2 separate regions of the Homo sapiens genome follow, and region 1 is linked to region 2. Evidence: promoter capture Hi-C in 16 types of primary human blood cells and fetal thymus (Javierre and others, 2016). All regions are on one chromosome and are shown on one strand. Each heading gives the region's core, a stretch centred on a gene start or on the middle of the fragment in contact. The rest is flanking DNA. Distances are from core to core; before and after follow the strand shown. Region 1 overlaps GUCY1A2 (guanylate cyclase 1 soluble subunit alpha 2). Region 2 holds the start of GUCY1A2 (guanylate cyclase 1 soluble subunit alpha 2).

What was found. The method cuts DNA at HindIII sites, captures the fragments that hold promoters and counts their contacts. A CHiCAGO score of 5 or more calls a contact.
Region 1: a contact is called between a fragment that was not itself captured here and the fragment with the promoter of GUCY1A2 in region 2, in 1 of 17 cell types (endothelial precursors). The highest score is 5.7, in endothelial precursors.

The regions. Positions count from the first base shown.
Region 1 is chr11:106,718,020-106,724,759 of GRCh38, reverse strand. The region is part of intron 6 of GUCY1A2 (guanylate cyclase 1 soluble subunit alpha 2); the gene reads left to right. Among named protein-coding and RNA genes, the nearest start is that of GUCY1A2, 300 kb to the left of the region's middle. The HindIII fragment of the contact is 1,347 bases long and covers 3,024-4,370 here.
Region 2 is chr11:107,012,994-107,019,800 of GRCh38, reverse strand. It overlaps GUCY1A2 (guanylate cyclase 1 soluble subunit alpha 2), which reads left to right and starts at 1,325. Exons shown (of 8, transcript NM_000855.3): 1 at 1,325-2,048. The coding sequence starts at 1,746. RefSeq lists a silencer at 1,802-1,931. The HindIII fragment of the contact is 2,566 bases long and covers 312-2,877 here.

The DNA.
Region 1 (6,740 bases), core at 2,448-4,947, 300 kb after region 2:
GGTTATCTCGTTATCCTCATTTTACACATAGAGATATGAAAGCTGCGAGAGTAACAATGACTCACTCATAAGGGCAGGCAGATAATATATTGCATAACCAGGAGTGAAACACTGATTTTTCAAATAGGCTTAAATCCAAGACTCTTAAACCATGCTTTGAGCAAGAACTTCTCAGGATTTGAAAAATAAAAAGCCTTGATAACCCAGTGTGGTTGGAATAAGCACTCAAGAGCAAGAGAGCCACAGCTTCCTCCTGTGTAAACAGGATAAAGGCACTTAAGGGCAGGTGACCAGAGAGAGTGAGATGGGGCCGGAGGGAAGGATAGGGTGATCAGATTCAGGGATTGGAGCCAATTTTTGTGGATCTAGCTACGTGACAATATGAAAAATGAACCCAGGTCAACAAAAGTTCCTTACTGGGTTATAGTACTCTTCTTCCTTTTAACTTGAGAAGTAGAAGGGTCTGACAAATTGAGTCTGATGAATAAACTCTTGTGTTGGCCAATTCTGCCTGCCATGTGCCCTTAGACTGCTTGCAGGGCTGAGGCCCACAGTAGCTGTCCTGGCCTTTTGCTGTGTTACTGGTTCCTGGTGTACATCTCTGAAAGGGCTCAGGCCACCCTTAGATAATTCCACAAGGCAGGTGCCATGGCTTGGATACACTCACTTGACCCAAGTTAGCTTGTTCTGTTTATTCATATGGTTGTTTTTAACTTGGTAGAAAAAGTAAACTGAACGGGAATGGAGGAATACCTTAAGCAAGTTTCTGTCAAATTATTATTTACTTAAATTCATTTTTTAAGAAACTCCCTTTACGAGGTGAAACAGTTGAAGAAAACAATACATTTCAAATATCTAATTCAAAAAGCATATTAATTTATGTTCAAAGATGTTTTAAGAAGTGGTTTAAATTCATATTTTTACTTTTTTTTTTTGAGATGGAGTTTCGCTCTTGTTGCCCAGGCTGGAAGTGCAGTAGCATGATCTTGACTCACTGCTTCCTCCGCCTCCTGGATTCAAGTGATTCTCCTGCCTCAGCCTCCAAAGTAGCTGGGACTACAGGCATGCGCCACCATGCCCAGCTAATTTTTGTACTTTTAATAGAGACAGGGCTTTGCCATGTTGGCCAGGCTGGTCTCGAACTCAGCCTCAGGTGATCTGTCCTCCTTGGCCTCCCAAAGTGATGGGATTACAGGCGTGAGCCACTGAGCCTGGCCATTTTTTACTTAAATATTGAGTCACTGCTGTGTACCAGGAAGGTTCTGGTGGGTGCTTGGAATATTACAGTGAGAAAAATGTTGTTATATCTTTGTTTTCCCAGAAGTCAGTACTAAGCAAAGGAGACAGGTAATGAAAACAAAACAAAACAGTCAAAATAAAGTGTAGGAAATGTTAGGAGAGAAGAATCGTGAATACAGTTCATACCAGGGATTCCTAAGTTCCTGATGAAAGGCTTCCCAAAGTAAGTGACTTCTAAGCTGTGGTCTGAAAAGTGAGAAACTATCCAGCTAGATGAAGGGTTGAGAAAACCAGAGGAAACAACTTATACGCAGACATGGAGCAGGGATGATGGCTAAGCTGGGCCTCTGTGGTGATGAGAATTTCTCAAGAGAAGTGTTGGGGCACAGTCAGAGGAAACAATCATAAAGGATCGGGGAGACAAACAGCTTGCTGTGTTTTAAGATATGCAGTTGACTTTGTATCATAATAAAATATATCAAAATAACTATTTTAATAGTCCTATAAAATTACACATATATAAACATATAAATAATAGTGATAAATTCATTTGCTATTGAAGATATTGCTTTGGTTAAAACTACATATTTCTTATTCTGAATTTCACATGTCTGGGGGAATGGGGTCAAAACAAAACAAACCAGTGCTAACCATTCTGGTTCTATATGCAAAGGGATTCCTTAAAATTGACATTGTGTGCAACACACACACACACACACACACACACACACACACAGAACTGGTCTTTGATGACTATTTTGTATAAGTTCTTCATTTAGCAGGTGCTCTTTCTGAAAAAGAAAATTTCCTATTTTTTTTTCTTTTGTTTGCTTGAATGGGATCGATGACTGGCTAATCGTAAATAAATACTACCAAGCCTTTTATTTCAAACTTCAGAGCTTTCTTCTCAAAGCCCAGGTTAAAAGAAGAGTCCCAGTTAAATCAAGTGACATATTCTAGTCCATAGATTTACTGGTTCATGGTTCTATTATTCTTTTATTTTGTACTAAGGGCACTATCAAAATAAATAAAAACATCACAGCTGTACTGAAACACTAAAAGAAAAATCTTGAATTTTCAGTAGTGATTTTAGACCCCACTACCAAGATTTTTTTTTCTTTTTGCAGCCATTAACTAGTTTTTTAAAAATAGCTAAATTTGGGAGGATCTCAACATACAATTTTAGAAAGTCTAGTCTGAGATTACTTTATCAGTTATTGGAATAATCTGACAAGCAGAAGTAGGACTAGGAATAAAGCATTGATTCAAGATTTCTTGTTTAAATGGTGCTTCTCATTCTTTGTTTGCAAATCTTGAGGAATACAAAGATGAATGAGCATCCAGTCCCTTTGGTGTCAAAAATATCATGCTGCAAGTATTTAGAAGAGGGAAAGAGGAACATTTGTGCCTGGCATAGCATTTCCTTTCATTTTCATTTATTCTTCTGCTTATTAATTCACTTATTCAGTCAATCAACAAACATTTAAAGATTGCCTACTCAATACAAAATCCACTAGTGGGTGTTGATGATGCAGCAATGATTTGGCACTGAAAAGAAACTTAAGGTAATGGTTCTCAAAATTTGAGAAATCTGTGAACTTCTTTGAAAAGGTGATAGGTACTATGGGTGCAACATAGGCATATCTGTGCTCATAACTTCAGTGGGGCTGAGGAGGATGCCTTGAAGCCCACCATTGGATTCCTTGGGACTTATGAATTTTGCTTAGCAATTTCTTAATTACAGTTTTGTTCATTGTTTGAATTTTGCCATCCAATCCAAAGCTTTTATCCTTATTATAAGGTTGATTTCGTTTTCATAATTAACCCCTAAAAGTAATATTGGGTCAAATCTTAAAGACACTTCTCCAGTTGAGAGACCTACTGCTGACGTTAAAGAACCAACCTGCTCAGTAAAATGAACATGAGCGCCATCTAATGCCCAAACAGAATAAATGTTGGTAACAACATTAATACACAGAAGATTAGAGTATGGGGTGTATGTACAAAGGAATTAACTTTGTTATCGGTTGGTTGACTCATTTCTAACACTTGTTAATTATTTTTTGATATTATCATTTTCAATTATTTTATTTCACATAACAGTCCCTTACTGTCTGAATTTGAAGATAAGAAACATTTTTAACAATAAGAAACATTTTGTTGGCCAGGCGCGGTGGCTCACTCCTGTAATCCCAGCACTTTGGGAGGCCGAGGCAGGCAGATCACCTGAGGCCGCGAGTTTGAGAGTAGCCTGGGAAACATGGCAAAACCCCGTCTCTACTAAAGATACAAAAATTAGCCGGGCATGGTGGCGCACGCCTGTAGTCCCAGCTACTCGGTAGATTGAGGCAGGAGAATTGCTTGAACCTGGGAGGTGGAGGCTGCGGTGAGCCAAGATGGCACCACTGCACTCCAGCCTGGGTGACAGAGACTCTGTCTCAAAAAAAAAAAAAAATTTGCAAATATGTCCTTTTTATTGGTGGAGAAGCATATGACTTACATTTTTAAATAAATTTTTGATTTTAGAATGTTTTTCGTTTTTCAGAATAATTTGCAAAGATAGTCCATAGAATACCCAAGTATCCCACACCCAGTTTCACCCAGAACTAATATGGTACAATTGTTACAATTAACAAACCAGTATCAATACATTATTATTAGCTAAAGTCTACAATTTATTCATATTTTCTTAATTTTCCCCTAATGTTCTTTTATGTTTCAAGGTCCCATCTAGGACACCACATTACATTTGGTAATCATACCTCCTTAGGCTTAGTTATGACAGTTTGATTTACATTTGATATTGTATGTCTTTGAATTTTATTTTAGCTTTCTGTTATTTTTCAAAATCTTAAAACAATTTAACTTTTCAGAAAACACTTTCCCTTGTTCTGTTCCCTTGATAACACTGCATGACTATTTAATCAGTTTTATAGGGGTTTGTATAAACATACATTATCATTATGCATCGTTCATCTCTAATAATGAAAAAAAAGGGTTAAGAAAGAGGATTATCAAAATGTTTAACTTGCCAAGATTGCCAATATAATATAATAAATAAATGATGGGTCAGATTCCAAAGCCTATGACACCTTCCAAAAAGCTAACACATCTTTTGGCATGCATAAGCTTAAAATGCCCTCCACCCCAGCACCATGCTGCTGCAAGGGCTTCTGGAATGACCAACGCCCAAGACAAAGTCGTTTGCCTTTGGAGTCCCATTGCCCCTCACAAGCACTTTTTATTTTATATAAAAAGTTTATATAAAATACTCTATAAATGAGCCTGGGTTGCCACCCAAACTGTTTTGTGTTTGCCACGAAAACAGATGTGCTGAGGTCTCAAGGAAACTTCTGTCTTACACTAACTGGAATGCATTAAGTCTGAGGAGGGTTCACAGTTCTGTCCTAGTTGCTAATATTTTAATTAAACATATATTTTTGTGGCCTTTAAAAGCCATCAGGAGATATAAAGGAATATTTTTTTGATAACTTCAGTGTCCTGGGAGCAAAATGGAATATTGTGTTTCCTAATTGAAGAAGTAGTATATATGTGTATATGGATGTGAAGGAATTTATAGAATGCTGGCGAAAATGATTTCCTGGGCAAACAGTAGAGGTATATAAATTACTTGGATCCTGCAGTATTGATTATTTGTGAATATATCTGTAAAACATTAAGTGATTTTTGTACACTCATAGATTTCAACCTTGGATGCATATTAGAAACCCTAGGGAGGGTTAAAAATCCCAATACCCAATCTTCATTCCAAACCAGCTAAATCTTACTCTCCAGTAATCAAATTCAAAACAGCAATTTTAAAGCTCCCCAGTTGATTCCAGTGTGTAGCCAAGAGTTCTACATTGTAACTCAGGGGTTTAATATTGTTCCTGTACTTTTATTCTGCAGCATAAACTTAGCTATGCTATTTATTCTTATTTTTAAAAGAAGGTATGGCTTACGAAAGATGATAAGCATTATTATGTTTAACAATCAAACTCATTATTAAAATTCCTTTTTTTCTTATACTTCTGTCAAATGCATTGTTTTTTCTCTGAGTAATTTAGATGAATGAATTAATAACTGATAAACACACATGTAATACTATGAGACTCCTTTCCTAAATCCTTTTATCTATTTTCAAAGGATTTTATTTCTACATATTTAAAGTTTTTTAAATCATTTTTTAATTTGTGCTTCTATGAAATTTTTTTCTTCCTAGAAATTTTATTCCGGATTATCTGTTAAGAGCTGCATTTTGACAGAAAATGATTTTCCTTATTAACTGAGTGAATTGATAAGTAAGTAGGAATATTTTCCAGTGGTAGTCTCAAGATAGAAACTTCTAAGAGCTTTGAAGTTTTAGCAATTAACAGACTTTATTAAAAATGAAGCCACTAACAAGGATATTAATACAAGGTAGATTTCAATCTGGGCAATTATACAATATAGACGTCTTTATTACTAACTAAAATATCACAGAATGATTTGATTAATGCTATAAATGTGATTAGTAGAATAAGTGTATCCTTAGTGCCATTGGTTAGATAGCCAAAGACTGGATGTCAGAGAAAGGTTTCCAATTCTTTTCTACATATGAGAATCAAAATCAAATTATAGAAAAAAGTCACAATTGTTTTCTTGAATTCCTTAAATATGTTTTTCATCCTTGAATTCTGCTATTACTCTTCATTATAGTGGTCAGTTTGTGTGTGCTTCAAGTATGTCACTATGTTGTTAAATATGTCAGCTGTCTACATTTCTAACACAAAATGATCTTTTTTTTCAACCGCTAAGTTATATGCTGGTTATTTCTAAGTACATGCATATTCAATCTAAGTATCTCAGTTGATTTAAATCAGTTTCTTACTTTGAAAAGATTTTTAAGACTTTTTTTGCACAGAGGTAAATTTCAGATTCAGCTTATAGGCCTTAATAATAACACTCCTACAGACTGAGTCAAATTTAAATATCTTATCAGGTATTAAATATATTTAAATAAAAACATACACATTAATGAGTGCCCTGTGAGAAAGTGGTGGTGAATTTGAGCCATATTGCTATATCCCCACAGCAATATCTGACATTTTATTCAGTGCCATCAGCTATATGATTCTAGACATGCCCTCCTAATCAGTGGTTTGTAGGGTTTTATCCTTCCTCATCAGAAAATGTAAACAAGATTACAAACCCACTTTCTTCCCCAACTGTAAAATATTAATTATTTAAAATTTTACCGTGTTTTATTTTATACAAGTGATAATAGCTCATATTATATGGTCTGAAATTACCAGTGATGAGAATAATTATTTGGTCAAATACTTTCTGTAAAGTTAAATTTATCTATGAATGGTGCTTCTGTAATGTTGACAGTAAATACAGTAAGATATTTTGCCCAAAGTGCTGTTTGTCTTAGTGTATTACTTGATGTGACATTCTGACACCATCAGACTGGAGGCTGAGTCCTCTGATAAAAAGAAAAATGCCACATAGCCACAGAA
Region 2 (6,807 bases), core at 76-2,575:
AAAAACCCATCTGCCTTCACCTGGAAGGACCAGTTCTTTAATTAAAAAAACGCTTTGGCTTCGGTTTCACTGGGAAACTAAAGCCAGAGCCCCTAAACTTTTCTCTCCGCAGATCGGGTGAGCTGGGGAGGGTGCTCATCCACTTCATTGCAGGGGGAAGTACAGCCTGGAACCCCTTTCGGGATACTGTCATTTGCCCCTTCTTCCCATCTCTTACTCTATCCTCAGAACCAGTATGAGAGTTTTCTGGGGCTAAGGCAAGGGGCAGTGGGGTCAGGCGCTGGAAGGACTGGTTTGCAAAGAGATAAGCTTTGGAATGAAGCCGCACAGCTGAAAACTCGCGGCAAGACATGCTCGCGCTGTGGCGAGTCAGTTCGAGAAGCATTTATCCCTACTCCCCTTAGCTTTCTGAGCAGCATTTGCAGTCAGGTGCAAACAGATCGCATATTTGGCGCAAAGAGCCCTGAGGATGAGGGACGTGGGATCATTCCCCGGTTTCCCCCGGGCCAGGTGCTAGGTCGTTTGAGGAGGAACTGTTCTCCAGTTCTCAACGCCTGCAAAGGCGGCTATAGGTGGCAAGCGGAGCTGTCCAGCACTAGTGAGGAGCCAGCGGAGCCGGGAGCCCCGCGCACCCCGCCCGGCTGAGGCTCAGCAACAGTGCTGTCTTGTCAGAGCAGACGCTGTCCTCACTGCCGCCCCTTTCTGGGCTCGCTCCGCGCCCACACGGCCTCGCACGAGGCGGGGAACACAAGTCCCCAGGAGCTGCTCCAGCAGGATGGGCGCCAAAATGTTGCCCCTGTCCTTCCCTTCCCCTGAAAGCGTCTCCTCTGGAGTGGGCTGGCTGGACGCTTGGCCTTTCCCTTTTGCCTCGGAACTTCCTAAATAAACTCGGAGAAAGGACAACATGGACCCTAACCCCCACTTCACACTGTCAGGTTTCCCCAAGGTGGCTCCAGGGGGAGGCCTCTCGCCCCCCAGCCCCGAGCCCTTCTCCCCACCAGCGCCGCCGGGACCCATCTGCTCCCGAGGGCCGAGGATAAGGCGTTTGGGGTTGGGGCCCTCAGTCCGACCCGAGCTCCTGTGCGCACCTCCTCGGAGCAGGGAGGGCGCGCAGAGGACAGCAACGAAGTGTCCTCGTTGCTCCTGAAACGTGGCGACAGGCGAGGCAGAGACTCCCAATGAGTATGATGGCGACACGTGATTCCCGCGGAGGGAGAGCATGGGGGGGGGCGGGGGGATAAAGGGAGAAGGAGGGAGGCAGGGCAGCAAGTGGAGAGAGGCGGGAGCAGAGAGGGAAAGGGGGCGAGATAGGCGCGCAGGCGGCAGAAGCCTCTGCCTCTGCCTCCCCTTCTGCTTGGGCCGCAGCCCTCCCCGCCCCGCCGACCGCGGTCACACACTCTCGGAGCCTCCCCGTGAGCGGGAGCGCGGCGCACGGCGATGCGCCGAGGCGGGCGCTGAGGCGGCGCCGCGCGAGCAGCAGCAGAGGCGGCGGCGGCCCCCAGCCCAGCCCGGCGCCGCCGCCGAGCCCGGGCCCCAAGGTGCGGCGGCGCCCCAAGTTCCCGCCATGAGCAGCCGGCTCGGGGGGCTCCGCGGCCCCGGGGACTCCCGCCCCGCCGGGCGCGACCGCAGCGCCCCGCGGCCCCGACGCGCTTAACGTTGTCGCTTGCCGGTCCCGCCACCGCCGCCTCCGCCGCCGCTCGCGTCCTCGCCGCCACCGCCTCGGCCGCTGCAGCTCCGCCGGCAGCATGTCTCGAAGGAAGATTTCGTCCGAGTCCTTCAGCTCCCTGGGCTCCGACTACCTGGAGACCAGCCCGGAGGAGGAGGGGGAGTGCCCCCTGTCTAGGCTCTGCTGGAATGGCAGCCGGAGCCCGCCCGGGCCGCTGGAGCCCAGCCCGGCCGCAGCTGCCGCTGCCGCCGCCCCGGCCCCGACCCCGGCTGCTTCTGCCGCCGCCGCCGCTGCCACTGCCGGGGCCAGGAGGGTGCAGCGCCGGAGGCGGGTCAACCTGGACTCGCTGGGCGAGAGCATCAGCCGCCTGACGGCGCCCTCGGTGAGCGGGGGGCGGAAGGGGGGACCGCCTTCGGGGGAGAGAACGCGGATCTGTAAAGTTGGCGCTGGGCGAGCCGGGGCGCGAGCGCAGAGCCCGACCGCTGGGGGGCGGCCCGGCCTTACCCTGCACGGCCTAGGGTTCCAGTGGCTCCGGCGACAGAGGATCCCCTAGGCTAGGGCGGAAGAGGGGACTACAGCACTGGGAAGGAATAAGATTCCACTCCTTTGGGGTATCCTGATTCGGGGGCCTGTCTGCCCACCTCTAGCCTTGAACCCTACTTCACCACTGTTCCCCCTGGACAGCCCCAGTGCTGCTTCACACCCACCTGTTTTCTTTCCCCTAAACTTTCCCAGGCACTGTGTTCTGCAGTTCAGCTTCCCTGTCTTTCATCCTGTTCTCCAGCATCCCAAAGGAGCCCCAACCCCTTCCAGGAAACCCTTCCTCTCCTTATTTCCCACACTCTCTTGGTCTTAGCGTGACCTTCTCTGACATCTTTGAATTCCACAGGCTATCTGCATTCTATGTTGCATCCTTTTTCTCACATCTTCAGATACTTTTTGCCAGATACTTTTCTGAGTTGCCTTCTGTTCAAGTAATCTCTAATCTCGAGTTGTCCTCACCCCGTAGCTTTTTTTCTTTTTCTTTCTTATCCACTAGGCATTTATTCTTCTCTGGGTAAACCTGGTGTCTGGATTTCTTTTTTTTTAAATTAAATTTAATTTAAAGTCCCGGGTTACATGTGCAGGATGTGCAGATTTGTTACATAGGTACCAAACGTGTGCCATGGTGGTTTGCTGCACCTACTAACTCATCACCTAGGTATTAAGCTTCGCATGCATTAGCTATTTAAACCGCTCTGTACTTCTTGCACCTGTACCTCATCCTTTACTCTCTCCTCAATGGATTCTCTAGTGCTTTCTCTCTCACATTAGCTATTTAAACCTCTCTGTACTTCTTGCACCTGTACCTCATCCTTTACTCTCTCCTCAATGGATTCTCTAGTGCTTTCTCTCTCACATTAGCTATTTAAACCGCTCTGTACTTCTTGCACCTGCACCTCATCCTTTACTCTCTCTTCAATTGATTCTCTAGTGCTTTCTCTCTCATTTTTTGGTGGCTTCTTTATATTAGGCCCTTCCTAAATATTTGTGGAATGAATAAATGCCTCTCCAAACTTGTGGTCATCTTGGGATGTCTGTATCAGCAGTTTCAGGTGTACAACAAACTCCCCCTGGTTGTAGGCATCCTTCCAGAGGAGTACTGCCTTATTCCTGCCCAGGCATTTCAGCTACCCTTGGCTTTTACCTCTTGCAGGAATGCCAGACCTCTGATCCAATCTTACCGTGTCTGGGAGAGCTCTGTTTTAAAGAAATCCACTCTGTTGCAGACAGAATTTGAAAAAGATTCAGCGTCAAACCTCCACCCATCTTTTATGCTCACCCTGACCTTGGATACAAGAGCTTTAGCTCCTCCTGACAGCACTTTCACCTGCCCACCCCTAGGACTTTTACTTTTTTAAAGTTTCCGAAATGAATCTGAACACTGATCTTGTTTGATTACTGTTGAGTCTCTCTTTTGAGATTACTACTGCAAATGATGGTAGGGGGGACCTAAGAAGGAGTGGAACCCTGAGGGGACTGAGTACGGGTACCAGACAGGTCTACAAATATTCTTGTGGCACTTGTATTAATGGAGAATGATTTTTTTCTTTTACGAGACCTGATTGAAGATGTATAAATCACTTATTACATTATTTATTTTGAACTAATTTAATTCTTAGGAACACATATTGAGAAACAGTCATCTTCCTATTCTTGTGTATTTTCGTATTTGATATATCTTTCTGCCACTTTTTCTTTCATCATTAACCTAGAAAACAATCCTCAGAATAGATTGGCTACTCTTTGCTGTTCTTCCCTGCCAATATTTCCCAGGCAGCGTAATTTTATAAACTATTTGATGTTGCAAATTGTTGAAAATATTTATTTACAACAGGAGTCCAATGACCCCGAGCGTCTGTAGGCTTGTGTCAGTACTTAAAGCAACATTTGTGCAATAAAATAGTTATTTAGTACAACAGATTCTTATTTAATGAAATGATTTTGCTAAAGATAATGATTAGTTTGGGGAGAATTGTTGATATAACCTTGGAGGTTTTTTTTTTTTTTTTTTTTTTTTTTTTTTTTTTTTTGCCTAAGAGAATTTACAGATTTCTAAAAAGTAATGTCAATGCCTCTGATAATGCTAATTTAAGCTAAGACTATTTTCAACAACTTACATGAGGAGTAGATAAAAGAAACTGAGAAATGCAGTATTTTCTGCTAGAATAAGAGGAAGGAAATAGTCTCTGATGGTTACTTTTATAAGTTAAATTTGAATGACTGGCTTTTTGCTGGATGAAAAGAATGTATCCAGAGAATGGTTTTCAGAATAAGCAATTTAAAAATAATTGTGATGATCAAATAAATGCAACAGCTCTATATACTTTCCATGCCATAGTTGTTTTCTATTATGAAAAGGGTCTGTCAGGTGGACGCTGAGAACATACAGGTGAATATACTGTAAACATTTTCAACATAACACATGTATAGAAAAATTCTCCTTGGTTAACCATATCATCAATAGACTTAGTGACACAAATAAAAGAGAGAGATTATATTTCAAAGCAGTGACTCATTTCTGGGCAGTCCTTACCTTATTTTATTTGGCAAGTTAGAACACTAGCTCAAAAAGTTCCAGTAGATTCATTTTTTGACATTGTCAGGATTTGAAACTTCTTTGAATACTCTTCAGGAGATGGATTATGTCCTCTCTATTCTCTCATGAAAGCTGGACATTTTTTTGTTTTTGAACCACTGAGAGTAGCCATTACCAGAGCCTTTTTAGATGGGAATTTCTAGTTGTTTTGAATGTTGTGAGCTTTCTTGCATGCCATCACAATATACTTCAGGAGAAACTGTACTTGCCATGGAAGCTCCTGTTTTGTCAGTTGTCTCATCGTGGCATGTCTCAGTCACTTGGGATTTCTTCTTTATTCAGAATGATTTGCAAATAGAAAAATGAAAATTTATTTATTAAACTAGTTATTTGACCCATGGGATATCCACACTCAGGTTTTTGATGCTTAATAGTCACTTTAAGATGCACCGATGTTGAGTATAAAGGTTATAATAATTTCTAATACTATTTAATAAGAGTAAGTTGTATTGGTGAAATTGAAAAAAAATTCCAGAATTCGGGAGACCTGATTCTAATTTTGCCTTGAACAATGAGAAACTTACATATCTCTGGACACATTACTTTAAATATCTGGGATTTCCCAGGCTTTGGACAAACTGTCATATTGGCATATGAAAGGGAAACATGGGCCAGGCGTGGTGGCTCATGCCTGTAATCCCAGCACTTTGGGAGGCCGAGGCAGGCAGATCACTAGGTCAAGAGATTGAGACCATCCTGGTCAACATGGTGAAACCCCGTCTCTACTAAAAATACAAAAATTAGCTGGGCATGGTGGCGTGCACCTGTAGTCCCAGCTACTTGAAAGGCTGAGGCAGGAGAATTGCTTGAACCCGGGAGGCAGAGGTTGTAGTGAGCCGAGATTGCGCCACTGCATTCCAGCCTGGCGACAGAGCGAGACTCCGTCTCAAAAAAAAAAAAAAAAAAAAAAAAAAAAGGAAAACATGGCATATATTATAAGTTTTAAAACTTTTGAGGAAAGTAGTTTACTTTTTAAGATAGGGGCACCAAAATGCTATTTAATCCACCCAATTATTTAAAAAATATTGTAGTATCTATGTGGCAGGTATTGTGCAGAGCATTTGGAAAGACAAATGCTGAACAAAACATATCTAGTCTTTGATTTCATGGAACTTCTTTAATCATTATCTTTATTTTAATGAAACTATATAAAGGGAAAACATAAGAACTCCAATTGTCTTGGCGAAATCTAGGGGAAGTTTTATTTGTCATTCACTTTGGGTAGTTTTGTTCATTGTGAATCTCTGGGGTGCAGCCATAATAATAAAAATAACCCTCCAATTAGCAGGTCATGATGATGCACGCCTGTAATCCCAGCTACTTGGGAGGCTGAGGCTCGAGAATCGCTTGAACCCGGGAGGCGGAAGTTGTGATGAGCTGAGATCACACCACTGCACTCCAGACCCTGGGTGACAGCGAGACTCTGTCTCCAAAACAAAACAAACAAAAACCCTCAAGACCTTAAGACCTGATTGAAGATGTATAAATCATTTATTACATTCTTTATTTTAAAATAATATAATAGTTGGGAATACATATTAAGCAACAGCTGGGGATTTCACATCAAGGGTGAACTTAGCGACTTATTTATTTGGATTTTATTCTTAAATGAGAGTTGCTTAGTTACCCTATCACTGCGACATCAATTTTGGGTTTGCTGGTGTCAGCCTGTCAGTGAAGATACACCACTAGAGTCATATAAGGGCAAGGCTTCTCTAGGTTTCTTGACAGAGAACATTGCAAGTGGCTTTGAAGACCTCAGAAGCTTTAGAGAGCAGAATGTCAGGAAAAAAAAGTAACAGAATTGGAGGAGTGGCAAATAAGGAGAGGAGAGCTACTGACCTGTGGAGTTGTTCAAGAAACAGAGACTAGTGAAGAGGAAAAAATGAAGGTGGAAGCTTAGATTCAAGTGACAAAAAAGCATAAATTATTATTTTGGGGAAGGAAATTATCTTAATACATGTCAAGGAAAGAATGAAAAGGCATAAAATACTTTAGCTTC